Linked DNA regions of Homo sapiens: regions 1, 2, 3 and 5 are each linked to region 4. The links are contacts of gene promoters, found by promoter capture Hi-C in blood cells and fetal thymus (Javierre and others, 2016). All regions are on one chromosome and are shown on one strand. The core of a region is centred on a gene start or on the middle of the fragment in contact, and the rest is flanking DNA. Distances in the headings are between cores, read along the strand shown. Region 1 overlaps LOC105369325 (a long non-coding RNA gene). Region 2 overlaps LOC105369325 (a long non-coding RNA gene). Region 3 overlaps CD5 (CD5 molecule). Region 4 holds the start of TMEM109 (transmembrane protein 109). Region 5 overlaps LINC02954 (long intergenic non-protein coding RNA 2954).

Evidence for each region. The method cuts DNA at HindIII sites, captures the fragments that hold promoters and counts their contacts. A CHiCAGO score of 5 or more calls a contact.
Region 1: a contact is called between a fragment that was not itself captured here and the fragment with the promoter of TMEM109 in region 4, in 7 of 17 cell types (activated CD4 T cells, total CD4 T cells, total CD8 T cells and 4 more). The highest score is 7.1, in activated CD4 T cells.
Region 2: a contact is called between a fragment that was not itself captured here and the fragment with the promoter of TMEM109 in region 4, in 4 of 17 cell types (total CD8 T cells, activated CD4 T cells, naive CD8 T cells and 1 more). The highest score is 7.0, in total CD8 T cells.
Region 3: a fragment that was not itself captured here is called in contact with the fragment with the promoter of TMEM109 in region 4 in 7 of 17 cell types (total CD4 T cells, activated CD4 T cells, naive CD4 T cells and 4 more); the score reaches 12.2 in total CD4 T cells.
Region 5: a fragment that was not itself captured here is called in contact with the fragment with the promoter of TMEM109 in region 4 in 7 of 17 cell types (total B cells, non-activated CD4 T cells, total CD8 T cells and 4 more); the score reaches 8.9 in total B cells.

The regions. Positions count from the first base shown.
Region 1 is chr11:61,085,526-61,088,225 of GRCh38, reverse strand. The region is part of intron 1 of LOC105369325 (a long non-coding RNA gene); the gene reads left to right. Among named protein-coding and RNA genes, the nearest start is that of CD5, 16 kb to the left of the region's middle. The HindIII fragment of the contact is 5,909 bases long and covers 1-2,700 here.
Region 2 is chr11:61,045,403-61,048,102 of GRCh38, reverse strand. All of the region lies in intron 1 of LOC105369325 (a long non-coding RNA gene), which reads left to right. Among named protein-coding and RNA genes, the nearest start is that of LINC02954, 8.6 kb to the left of the region's middle. The HindIII fragment of the contact is 3,449 bases long and covers 1-2,700 here.
Region 3 is chr11:61,113,207-61,115,906 of GRCh38, reverse strand. It overlaps CD5 (CD5 molecule), which reads right to left. Exons shown (of 11, transcript NM_014207.4): 2 at 813-851. Among named protein-coding and RNA genes, the nearest start is that of CD5, 12 kb to the right of the region's middle. The HindIII fragment of the contact is 2,603 bases long and covers 37-2,639 here.
Region 4 is chr11:60,912,756-60,915,455 of GRCh38, reverse strand. It overlaps TMEM109 (transmembrane protein 109), which reads right to left and starts at 1,298. Exons shown (of 4, transcript NM_024092.3): 1 at 1,188-1,298. TMEM109-DT (TMEM109 divergent transcript) reads left to right here and starts at 1,393. Exons shown (of 2, transcript NR_186356.1): 1 at 1,393-1,496; 2 at 1,979-2,290. RefSeq lists enhancers at 500-669, 64-1,062, 2,061-2,700 and a silencer at 850-1,009. The HindIII fragment of the contact is 3,992 bases long and covers 39-2,700 here.
Region 5 is chr11:61,067,099-61,069,798 of GRCh38, reverse strand. LINC02954 (long intergenic non-protein coding RNA 2954) reads right to left here. Exons shown (of 4, transcript NR_186234.1): 4 at 2,202-2,368. The region is part of intron 1 of LOC105369325 (a long non-coding RNA gene); the gene reads left to right. Among named protein-coding and RNA genes, the nearest start is that of LINC02954, 13 kb to the right of the region's middle. The HindIII fragment of the contact is 2,133 bases long and covers 201-2,333 here.

The sequences.
Region 1 (2,700 bases), core at 2-2,501, 170 kb before region 4:
GATCATTAGTGAGTGTCCAGGACTCCACCTTGGGGGACAAATTTGATATAAAAGTGAGACATGTTTGTGATCATTTACTGAATGTCCAGGACATTCCTCGAGTGACTTCTGTTTGTCTTTGATGGCGGGTCCTTCCCTTTGCCCATTGCTGGGAGGTTTGGAGGAGCTGAGGTCACCAGCCTTGTTTCAGAGATGAGGAGACTGAAGTTCTGAGAGATGAGGGGATGGGTCCAGGTGCAGTCAGCCTTGGCCTGTGGCAAGAGGCAGGTCCCCAAGGCAATCTGGAGAGAGTCGGTTCTGGTCTGGTGTGGAGGGTGGGAGGGCATAGCTCAACAACTTCTACCCCATCCACACCGATGTGGAGCGCTCACCTCGATATGTGTCCCAGCAAGCCCCAACACTTCAGCATGGGTTATATGTTCCTAATTCTGTAAGCTCTTCTGAGGCCAGGGCCATGTTGGGTTGACCCTGTGGGATGATCTGGAAACAAATACTTATTGGTGTTATATGTGGTGATGATGATAGTGATGATCATGTCAATGATGAGAATGATGATAATGGCAGTAATGATGCTGATGGTGATGATGAAATGATGAAGATGATGGTGATGATGATGTCAGTAATGTTGATGAAGTCGATGATGATGATGATGGTGGTGATAATAGCTACCATTTACTAAGGGCTTACACAGTGCTAGGGACTCTATGTAATTACATTATCTTAGTTTTTTTCCCCAGAGTGAGTATGACACCTTGGCCGGGCGTAGTGGCTCGTGCCTGTAATCCCAGCACTTTGGGAGGCCGAGGCAGGAGAATCACTTGAGCCCAGGAGTTAAAGACCAGCCTGGGCAACACGGTGAAACCCTGTCTCTATAAAAAAATTAAAAAAAAATTATCCAGGCATGGTGGTGTGTGCCTGTAGTCCCAGCCACTTGGGAGGCAGAGATGGGAGGATTGCTTGAGCCCAGGAGGTTGAGGCTGCAGTGAGCTGTGATCATGCCACTGCACTCCAACCTGGGTGACAGAGTTAATATATACATACCACCTTCACTGATGTGGAGGATGACTTGAGGTGGCTCACAGATGAACATTTTTATCTTAATAATGTGTTTGTTTTACTTTATATTAATTTATATACTGAAAATAGATAACTAGCTCACCAGATTCATGGTTTATACATTTCATTTTTAGATTAACTAGTGAGTTGATTTAAAGGAAAAATATTAAGTAAAAATAATATTTGGTACTTGGATAAGGTAAACGTGAATGGAAATTTTGAATCATTGACATTTGGAAGCATTTGGGGCAGATATCATTTTTATTCTATTTTGCAGAAGAGTGAGTAGATACTCAGAGAGTTTAATTAGCCTGAGATTATACACCATCCAGGTGGTAAAGCTGGGCTGGAACCCAGATGCTTAATTTAAAACAACAACAACTTTTTACTTATATATGGGATACACACAGCACAGTACATGCAGTGTGTTATAAATGTAACTTCACACACTGCACGTGCTGGTGTAACCAGCACCTGGGAGGCTCCCCACTGCCCCGCACTGCTCCCTACCCAAGTATCCACTGTCCTGACTTCTGTCATCATAGATTGGCTTTGCCTTTTCTTTGAACTTTATTTTATTTATTTATTATTTTGAGACAAGAGTCTGTCACCCAGGCTGGAGTGCAGTGGTGCCATCTTGGCTCACTGCAGCTTCTGCCTCCCAGGTTCAAATGAGTCTCCTGCATCAGCCTCCCGAGCAGCTGGGATTACAGGTGTGCACCACCACGTCTGGCTAATTTTTATTTTTTATTTTTTTTATTTTTTTTTTTTTTAAGAAATTTAGATTTTATTCTTTTTTTTTTTTTTTTTTTATTATACTCTAAGTTTTAGGGTACATGTGCACATTGTGCAGGTTAGTTACATATGTATACATGTGCCATGCTGGTGCGCTGCACCCACTAATGTGTCATCTAGCATTAGGTATATCTCCCAATGCTATCCCTCCCCCCTCCCCCGACCCCACCACAGTCCCCAGAGTGTGATATTCCCCTTCCTGTGTCCATGTGATCTCATTGTTCAATTCCCACCTATGAGTGAGAATATGCGGTGTTTGGTTTTTTGTTCTTGCGATAGTTTACTGAGAATGATGGTTTCCAATTTCATCCATGTCCCTACAAAGGATATGAACTCATCATTTTTTATGGCTGCATAGTATTCCATGGTGTATATGTGCCACATTTTCTTAATCCAGTCTATCATTGTTGGACATTTGGGTTGGTTCCAAGTCTTTGCTATTGTGAATAGTGCCGCAATAAACATACGTGTGCATGTGTCTTTATAGCAGCATGATTTATACTCATTTGGGTATATACCCAGTAATGGGATGGCTGGGTCAAATGGTATTTCTAGTTCTAGATCCCTGAGGAATCGCCACACTGACTTCCACAATGGTTGAACTAGTTTACAGTCCCACCAACAGTGTAAAAGTGTTCCTATTTCTCCGCATCCTCTCCAGCACCTGTTGTTTCCTGACTTTTTAATGATTGCCATTCTAACTGGTGTGAGATGATATCTCATAGTGGTTTTGATTTGCATTTCTCTGATGGCCAGTGATGATGAGCATTTCTTCATGTGTTTTTTGGCTGCATAAATGTCTTCTTTTGAGAAGTGTCTGTTCATGTCCTTCGCCCACTTTTTGATGGG
Region 2 (2,700 bases), core at 36-2,535, 130 kb before region 4:
GAGCTAGGGGGCCAGTCTTTTGTCCTGTCTCTGACTTGTAACATTTATTTCCCTTCCCATTCACCATAAGTATGAGGCAACAGTACACAAAACGGAGCAGGATGAAAAATAACCCAGAGAACTCTGTGTGATAGGAAAGCACGGGTGAAAAGATGAATTGATGAGAAAGTTATCCACATGATGCATCATATCAAAAGGTCTGTTCATGTTGTAGGTGGTGGGACACTGGTTTGATTCTGAGCTTCCTGGTGGCCAAGGCAAAGAGGCAAACCCAGAGGCTTGAGGACCCTCTCTACTGTCTCAAAAGACATTCTCGTCATCTTTATGAGCAACAAACAGCAAGTTTCATCATGCTGTTTCCCACAAAATCCCTCAATTCCTGAAGGTCTGCCCCAAAGCACAAGTCAGTAAAAGCAGCTCTTCAGGGCCAAAGCAAGTGAATGCTTGTGAATGATACAAGCTGCTAGGTGCGATTACTGTTGTAGCGGGGATTTATGCATCAGAGGACTGGCTTTTCTAAACCTGGTTTCTAGAGTCAGAGGCACTTTTTAAAGCTGGAATTCTCAACAAGGGTTTTTCCTAACTGCCTTCAGAAACTGGCCAGTCTTCAGAAATGAAGTGATGTGCAAAAGTGAAGTGTGCCTGGCACATAGTAGGTGCCCAGTTAAGGTTTGTTGTTACTGTGGTTGGATAAAGCCAGTCTGCCTGGTTGAATCTCACTCTCATGCTTGCTATGCAACATCAAAAGCTCTTTTCTGGGAAGAGGCCCATTAGGAGCATTTGTCAGGGGTGTGATGCTGATAGCAGGTGGATTATTGAGAGATTTGCTGCAGAGCAAACACCGAGCTCAAGGCATCCTAATATGTATGTATGTTTGAGGTTCAAGGAAAAGTGCAGGTAAAGAAAATGGGCAGAACTCTGAGAGCAGTCTGTAGAAAAAGAGAACTCGACCACTGGGAGAAAGGCAGATGGCTGCACAGTTGTGCTTCTTTGAATGCTACTGGCCTGACTGAAGACAGAGCTGCATTCCAGCATGATTGTAGCCCAAGTTGGCATCAGAAGCCACCTTCCAGTCACCCTGCAGATCGGGAAATATGTACTGTTGAAGTCTGGTGGTAATTTGAGGGCTTCCACAGTATCATTTTAGAGAGGATCCCTATTCTTAGCTGTGCAGATTGCTCTAAATTACATTGAGCACTTCATATTCTTGAGAAACCAGCTGCCACTGCAGGAAATCAGAGAATACTACAGCTGGAGGCACCTCAGGAATCGCCATGTCCTTGTCTTACAAGGGACGAAACTGATGCCCTGACCTGAATAGTGAATTCACAGTAGAATATTAACACTACAGCAGAGGCTGACTCCCGCAGTCCATATCATTTATTGGTATGTTAATGATTAAGTGAAATATTGCAAACAACTTCAAGGTGCATCAATAGAGCATTGGTTAAATAAATAATGGTACGTCCATAAGACAAGATGTATGGGTGGAAATATTTTCACATGGACCATTAAGAAAGAATGAGGTTGATGGACTTTTATTGCTGTGGAAGGATGTCCATGACATATTGATGAGGAAAAGAAGCAATTTGCAAATAACATGCATGTGTCTCTGTATGTGTGTCTACATATAGGTATGTGTATGTATAGAGGTGGTTATCTCCAGGTGGTAGGATTCCAGATTATTTTTACCTTCTTTAGAGATTTTGTGCAGTGTTTAGCCTTTTTTTTTCTTGTTTCCTTTCTATGAGTGTGGATTTGTTATAATAAAAAGTTACATTAATGTTTTTTTTTTTTGAGACGGAGTCTCACTCAGTCGCCCAGGCTGGAGTGCAGTGGTGCCATCTCGGCTCACTGCAAGCTCCGCCTCCCAGGTTCACACCATTCTCCCGCCTCAGGCTCCCGAGTAGCTGGGACTACAGGCGCCCACCACCACGCCCGGGCAATTTTTTTTTTGTATTTTTAGTAGAGACGGGGTTTCACCGTTTTAGCCAGGATGGTCTTGATCTCCTGACCTCATGATCCGCCTGCCTCGGCCTCCCAAAGTGCTGGGATTACAGGCGTGAGCCACCGCACCTGGCCTATATTAATTTTTAAACATGTTAATTGCTCATTTAAAATAGGTTTCAAAAAAATTATCAAGGAAATACATGTTTATGGCACAAAACTTGGAAAACTATTTTAAAAACTAGAAAGAGAAAAAAGAATCCCATCCAAATCTACCATTCAGAGCATCGTGGGCAGCCCTCCTAGGCTTGTTTGCTGTACATCTTGCTGGGATTTTGTAAGAAGAATCCCTTCTGAAAACTGCATGAAATTCTCTTAGATCTAGATACCGGCATTTACCAGATGGGTTTCCTAGATGTTAGACATCTCATTCTAGTTTTTCCTTATATAGTAGAGGACATCTTTGTGCGTATATGTTTGTCTACACTGTTTTCTTGGCAGTTTCTAAATGTGGGTCTCCTGGTCAAAAGCGCAGGCATTGTTAAAGCCCTCGGTACGCATTTTCCAGTTGCTTTTAAAAGCTGTCTCTCAATTTACATTCCAACCTGAAGCACAAGGGAGTGCCTATTTGACCCCGATCTCATGGACGTGATGACTGTCTTTTAAAAATACTTACTAATTAATGAATCATCTTTGAGCACGCCTGGCAACCTGGAGGCTGGTGCAGAGCTCTGGGGTGCTGTGGGCATCATA
Region 3 (2,700 bases), core at 89-2,588, 200 kb before region 4:
AAACGGGCTCAAGAGGTCAAGCAGTGTGCCAAAGCTTGGAGCTAGGATGTCAGTGCAGGGCCCAGATCGTGCTTAGGGCCTGCCAAGGCCCCTGTCACCCCCTCTGGCTGCACAGTGGCATCTCAAGACCCTTCAGCCACAATTCTCCCCAGGTACATTCAGCACGATGTTATCCCAGTCAATGTGAAGGAGAGGTCTGTGGTGAAATAAGGGTGCAAAGTGCTGGGTTAAAAAGTGTCATGTATTTCTTCGCTGCAGGATTTCTCAGATCCTTTACTGGGCCGGTGTACACTGTCAGTCTTCAGTGGGAGATGCGGTGTTGCCTGCCCTTTGTCCAACATGCTCCATGGAACCCTATTTGGGAAACAGCCTCTACGACTAAACTCCAACGTCTAAGGCTGGACGTTCCACACACTTTACCATCAGTCTGCGGCCTCTCTCTGCAGACTCCGCTCTAAACATCTTTGACCATGGAGCATCTGTCAGGATTGGGTGGGAAATAAGACTTTGCAAGGTACATTTATGAGCTGGGATGTCTTCTGTGCATGGTGAGCGGGTCATAATAATTATCATGAGATCTGGCATTTGTGGGTGATTTACGGCTGTCGAGGGCACCCACCTGCATGTGAGCATCTTAATGTGCAGTGTCTGCATCTATGTGCCTGTGTGTATGCTGGGGTTCACTCTCTCTATAGGGTGGGGTTCACTCTGGCAGAAGTGATGGCTTCATCGAGAGGTCCCCGATGGCCTGATGAAACCACAGCCCCACTCTCCCCCTGCCCCAGGCCTTTCTCCATGTGGCTCTTCCTTACCTGGGTCATACCAGCTGAGCCGTCCGAGGCAGGAAGCGACTGCAGAAAGAAGAGAGGAGGGTCAGGAAGTGAAACCTCCCACTCTCTCCCTTCTCCCCAGCTCACCCACCCACAGCCCGAGCAATGGCCCTTTCTGCCTCCCCCTATCCACTATCATGGGTTTTAGGGACAGGAATTTTCATACTCCAGGTTGGAACCCCTGAGTGATATGAATTCTATCTAGTGGGCTGCAACTATCGATTTTTTTTCTTCTTAAAAAACGTTACTTTTAAAATGAACAGACGTGAAATTGATTTTTCTTTACTGCATGATTCCGTGAATGTCACATATATAGATGTGTGTGACCACCATCACAATCAAGGTATACACCAGTTCCATTACTCCCTACCTCAAATTCCCTCATGCTAACCTTTGTAATAATGTAACCATCAATTATTATTATTATTACTTTTTGAGACAGGATATCACTCTCCTCACCCAGGCTGGAGTGCAGTGGCATGATCACAGCTCACTGCAGCCTCAACCTCCCTGGCTCAAAGAATCCTCCCACCTCAGCCTCTTGAGTAGCTAGGATTACAGGCATGAGCCACTATGCCTGGCTAATTTTTTTACTATGTATGTGTGTATGTATGTATGTATGCATGTATGTGTGTGTGTATGTAGAGATGGGGTCTCACTATGTTGTCCAGGCTGGTTTTGAACTCCTGGGCTCAAGTGATCCTCGTGCATCAGCTTCCTGAAGTGCTGGGATTCACATGTGTGAGCCACAGCACTCAGGCCATCAATTTTTTTAAAAATGAAATGGAGTAGAATAGAGAGGCCGTGCACGGTGGCTTATGACTGCAATCCCAGCACTTAAGGGGGCCAAGGTGGGAGGACCGCTTGAGCCCAGAAGTTGGACCCTGCAGTGAGCTATGATTATGCCACAGCACTCTAGCTGGGTGACAGAGTAAGACCCTGTTTTTTTTTGTTTGTTTTGTTTTAAATAAATAAAAAAGAGAATGTCAGAATGCACTGATCACTTTTTGTGTGTTGGGGGTTGCAATGTAAAAATGTCCCGCATGTTTCCACTCAAAAAAGTTTGAGCTCCTTAGTTCTAGAGAATGGAGAAATGATCCAGAAAGGGGCCGGGCACGGTGGCCCATGCCTATAATCCAAGCACTTTGGGAGGCCGAGGTGGGGGGATCACTTGAGGTCAGGAGTTTGAGACTGGCCTAGCCAATATGGTGAAACCCTGTCTCTACTAAAAATAACAAAAATTAGCTCGGCGTGGTGATGCATGCCTGTAATCCCAGCTCCTCTGGAGGCTGAGGCAGGAGAATTGCTTGAACCTGGGAGGTGGAGGCTGCAGTGAGCTGAGATTGCACCACTATACTCCAGACTGGGTGAGAGAGTGAGATTCTGTCTTTACAAGAAAAAAAAAAGGAAAGAAAGAAATGAGCAAGAAAGGGAACCAAGAGAACATTTGCTACTTTCTAGCATTCCCAAGGCAGGATAAGAATGACAGCCACTTATCTTTAACAGCTGCCCATTTCTGGAGAAGACCAAGCTCAAAGAGATGGCGTGACCTGCCCACAGTAGTGTAGCCAGCTAGTTGACAAGGGAGCCAAGGCGACAGGCCCAGGGAACACGGGTCTGCAGGGAACCAGCCTTCCCCCATGTGGACCACGTGGAAGCTCTGCCTCCTTGTAGCCTGGTCTCACTGTGGAGTGGGGGCAAAGTTGCCCATTGCGGGGCTCTCAGCAGAGCAGCTCATCTGTGGCTGGGGAAGAGGTTTAATTTGGGTGGGGACGAGGTGAAGTAGCAAGCTCACGTGGCTTCAAAGCTTAACCTCTGTATTCACCACCTAGCGTGATCAGTTAGGTGCAAGTACGGTATTTTGATTTCC
Region 4 (2,700 bases), core at 49-2,548:
GCATAGCCAGCAGCTCAGGGAAAAGTCTAAGCAAAGCTTCAAAAGTGCAGCAGTGTACAAAGGACCCCTGACTTCCGTCCCAGGCTCAAGTGTGCCACGGACTAGAAGCTACTACCTTACGCCTGTTACTTAACCTGCCTGAGTTGCAGTCTCCTCAAACGTAAAAGGGAGTGAACCCAGGTGAAGAGTTGCTGTAAGGAGTTAAGATATTTCTGCAGCAAGCGCTTTGTAAACTAAACATCTATAGAAATGTTGCAGCACACACATTACCACTGACTATATATCGTAGCATAATTTAGCAGTTTATCAACCTGCCTTCCCCAGTAGACCGAGCGACTCCCGGTTAGACTTGACATGTTGGAATCCCCAGCGCCTAGTAGGAAAGATGACTAATAAATGTTTATTAAATGAATATTAGCAACCTGCCAAGAAACCGTGAGGGTCGAACGAGAAAGCCATGGAGAGGTGAGGAGGGAGGTTATTTTAATAGTAGATCCAAATATACAGCAGCCACACGAGAAGCACAGCTGAGTCTAAAGGAAGGTCCTAAACAAGGCGAAGCCGCCACTGCAGAGAATGAAGTCAGCGCCCTGGCAGGTTGGGGGCAGCTCCCACTAAACCCCTGACAGCTGCTGCCCAGCAACTGTTTGGGGGCAGGGCGACGGCAAAGGGGCAGCTTCCCTGCCGCTCCGCGCCCTAACCGGGGCGCAGCCTCCCGGAGACAGGGTGTCAGTGGCATGTGCTATTTCGAACGGCGCGTCCCCTGCCAAGCGCTGAGGGGTAGCGTCGCTGGCAAGGAACGTGGCGCGACCCATGAGTTTGGGGCCCCCCGAAGGGCTCGAGCCGAGGCTGCAGGAGGCTGGGCCGTGGGTCGGGGTTCGGGGGCTCGGGCTTGGCGCTGGCCTGGTCCCCACGCCCGGGAGCCGCTCCACCTCTGCCGGACCTCGGAACCTCGCCGCAACCCTCTTCTCCCCGGAAACGTGCGCCTCCCGGGTTGCCTGGAAACGACGCCCCCGGTTGCATAGCAACGGGGATCCGGGTCCCCGGTTTGTTTCGCACGCTGGGCGCGCGGACCCCTCCCCACTCGGACTCTCCAGGCCTCGCGGCTCCGCCTGGTGCCGCCTGCAGCGGCTGCTGTCTCCCCTTCCCGTGCGCTGCCCCACATTCCGACCTCGGCCCGCTCTCACCTTTCTCAGGCCACTGCTATCCTTCACGTGCGACTTCGCTGAAACGCGCCACCAAACCCGCGCCTCAACTCGGGGCGCTGGTTTACCTTCTCCGCATGCGCAAGGCGGGATGAGCTCGGAGACTAGCCGGCCTTCCTCACAATCGAAGCCTGTGCCGGGAGCGCATGCGCCCCGCTTTATCTATTGCGTTTCTTTTTCCCCCCACAAGCATTCCCACCGAGAGAAGAATGGGATCGGAAGTTCCAGCAGGGAACGGAAGTCTCTGGCTGGAAAGGGGAAATAAGTGACTATATCTGGGCTGTAGAGTGGGTAAACTGGATCTTTGAAATCGGAGTGGAAGCTAATCCTCCTCTTGCCACCACTCGGCATTTTGGGTCATGTAGTTCTAGAGCTACAAATGTTCCCTGGGGCATTGTGGGCAATGTAGTTCTAACCGAGCCGCTAACGAGCACCTAGTCTTCCCATACACTTTTCGCGCTAAAAAGGCACAAAAGAGAAAGATATTAAAGGAGCAATTAAAAGCACACTGCTCTAGGAAAACGAATGCGCTCCCCCAGAGAGAAAATTCATACCTGAATACTGTAGACGGCTCCCAAATGTTAGCTCAGAATTTCAGAGAAAGAGAGGAACCAACTCTCACTCTCCTTTTTCTGCCACAAAGGCAGTGCATAGGGACAGGAGGCAGATAAATGCTAGGTAGAAAAGAGCGGGTCCCTGGTGAAACCCCACCCTCAAGCCAAAAAGCCTGAAACCATGGCCCAAAGTGAGAACTTCTATCCATGTTTTTCCAGTTGAATGTTGCCTTTTCCTAAGCCACCCATGGCTCTGCCCTGCCTCATCCTGTGCCTAGAAAGACCCCAGACTCATCTGGCAGAGAGGAGAAGCAGCTGGATGAGGGGACGACCATGGCTGGATGTCAGAGAGAAGCAGCTTGTCTTCAGAGGGACAGCTTAAGGCGTAACTTCTGAGACGAATCTGGCTGGAGATAGCTGGACTTCAAGGGAAGACTACATACCGGCCTGTCCCACCCCCCTCTTTTCAGCTCACCTTCCCTCTGAAATCCACTTTGATCAGCAATAAAATCCCAGGCATTTGTCCTTTAATTTGTTCGTGCAGCTTTATTTTTCTTGGACGCTGGACAAGAGCTCGGGAGCCACGAGTGCGGATACAAAAGCTGTCACGCTGGCCCTCTGCCCTTGCTGGTGGAGGGCAACCGCGGGCCCACGGAGCTGTTAACACTTAAGCTGTCCACGGACGACAGAGCCAAAAGAACACTGTAACATGCCCTCTGGGGCTTCAGGAGCCTCAGGCACTCTGCCTGGACACTGCCCCGGGGCCTGCACGGAGTTCGCTCCTGCCGGTGTCCAAAAGCGCACGCTCTGGCTCCTGCACCCACTCACCTGCACGCTCCCTCCTATGAGGGGTGGAACGCGGTGAATCTTGAGTGAGTGGAGTGTGATCCCACTGGTGCTGAAAAACGGCTGGCTTGTTCCAGCGCTTGTGCACTCCAGTT
Region 5 (2,700 bases), core at 18-2,517, 150 kb before region 4:
AACCCTTTAATCCCTTCTGCACCCCCTCCCCAGTCCCAGTCTTCTTGTTGCTGGTGGACTCATTTTCCCCTGTTGCAAGAGCCTCACTGGTTTTGTCTGTCCTCCATCCAGCACCGTCGTTGTCATCACGATTGGCTTGCAGTGCTGGCCTGGAGGAAGCAGGTGGTAGGGACAGGGTGAATCTGAGCAATGACCAAGCTTGCTGTCAGGATGGGTGTTCTCCTCCCTTCTAAGCTGTGTGTCTTTGGGCTGTTGCCTGGCTCTCCCAGCCTACGCAACAAGGATGCTGAAACCTTACAGGGCTTCAAAGCTATTTGTACATTGTCAAAGGCAGGGCAGATGTGAGGGAGACAGATGATGAAGGAGGCAAGAGGCATCTTGAGGCTTGGAACTGATGGATCTCTTGTTCCCACCACTAAGGGGACACAGGGACCTGCTGGAGACACACTGGGTACCTGGAGTTCTGCCCTGAGGGGGGCACTGAGGGGCCAGAAGAAAGGGGGAGAGCTTTGCTGTCAAGCCTGTGGTTCCAGAGGGAGGTCACTGATCCTGATTCATTCACTTATTCAATAACTTACTAGGTGCCTGCTATGCACGAGGCACTGTCCTTGGTGTTGGGAGACATGGCAAGAACAAAACAGACCCCAAACTTTCCTGCCCTCATGCTCCTTACAGTCTAACCTGGGGCAACTGACAATGAACAAAATAAATAAGTAAAAATATATTGTGTGTCCAGTGGCAATAAATGCTACGGAAGAGACTAAAACAGGAGAAGAGAAGGGGGAAGGGGGAGGGAGGGGTGGCGATTTAAATAGGGCTGTCCAGGAAGGCTCCACCCAAGGCGAGGAAGGGAGTTGAGGGCTCTCCAGGGGAAGAGCCTTCCAGCCCAGGACCAGCAAAGGCCCTGAGGCTGTCCAGTGTGTCCGATGGCCAGCGTGACCCAAGTGGTGTGAGCAGGTAGAGCAGTAGGCTGTGAGGTGGGAGACGTCATGGGTGCCTTTTACATGGGATCACTCCACATCCAGCAGGGAGAACACCCGGAAGGGAATGAGGGCAGGAAGCAGGAAGGCAGGTGAGGAGGCAGAGAGGACGGTGGCCAGGATCAGGGCGGTCGCAGTGGAGGGGGTGGGAGGTGGCCAGAGTCTGACTACATCTCGAAGGCAGAACCCATAGGATTTCTGGCTGGATTGCAGCTGGGATGTGAGAGAAAGAGGAGTCACAGGTGACACCACAGTTTTTGGCCAGAGCACCTGGAAGGATGGAGAAGCCCTGTCTTGAGATAGGGATGGTCAGGAGTTTGCTTTTGGCCATATGACACTTGAGATGCTCTCGGACACCCAAGTGGAGATGCTGAGCAGACAGGGCTGGGTATGAGTCTGGGGCCCAAGGTGGGTGGGGAGAAAGAGAGAGAGAGAGAGATCCAAGCTGGGAACATATTGGTGTTACCACGGTGGATTGGGAGGGATGGGGGTCGTTGGCAGCAGCGCACGTGAAGTCACTGCCACTGCCTGGCCTTTCTCTGCCCCTCAGTCGTGCCTCAGAGAAGAGAGGCAGACATATCTGCCCCGGAGCCCACCCAACTTGGCCCGCCTGCCATTCCCCTCCCCACCTCCCCTCCTGCCTTCCTTTCGTAGTCACCTGTTGTCTAAGTGTGGGCTGGGGGAGGGCGTTGCTGTTTTGGGTTCTCTCTGCCCCCCACTGAACAGAGGAGAGTGCACGGGAGGCCATCAACGCCAGCCCCATCAATCTCGAAAACTAGGTCACGCTGGAGCCTGGGGCCTCCACACTGGGCTCCAGCCACATCTGTCATTGACCTGAGACTCATGCATCCCTGCTCCTGGCAGGCACCATCTGTCACCCACAGCTCCTCTGTCTGTGCTCAGGATGCAGAATGGCCGACTCCTTTGCTGGTTCCAAGCACAGGCCATGGAAAGGGGCCTTGTGTTCATTGCATTTTTCACAGAGAGACTTATTCCCCAGGCTGACTGTCCACTGTGACCACCAGGAAGTTCAGTGGGTTTGCAAGGGCCCCAGTCTCCTATTTCAAGCTATCCTCCTGCCTGGGCCTCCCAAAGTGTTGGGATTATAGGCATGAGCCACTGTGCCCAGCCATAATCAGTGCTTCATACCATCAGATCTGGTATGTGGATTGAAACCTGTTTGTTAACTCGGATCTACACAGAGCCAAGCAGTACAAGAACTTGGAAACTTGGTTGAGTTTTTTAATCTTTTATCCAGGTTTTATCCAGGTTTTAACCTAGATGCTCACTGGGTAGAATTTAAGAGCTCAGGGAAGATTCAGAACCCAGGCAAAACTGTTTCTGGCTGAAGCTTTTCGTCATTTGATCAAGCATATGTAAGGTTAGCTCTGAAAAAGAAGTGTAAACACTGTTAATGATTTTTAAAAATGTAAAACTTTTTTTATATATATTGCATGCACACACACGCCCACACACCCACACACACATACACCGTGTAACCTCCACCCAGCTCAAGATCTAGAACATTTTCATCCCCCATTAAGGTTCCCTAGAGCCTCTCCTATCAGCCGCCCCCTCCCACCAAGAGCTAAGCACTGTTCTGGTCTCTCACTATGGGTCTGTTCTCCAGCTTTCCGTAAGTAGTGTTTTGAATTGCAGCGTATGGACTCTTCTGTGCCTGGCCTCTTCAGCTCCTCATTATACCCATGAAATTCATCCG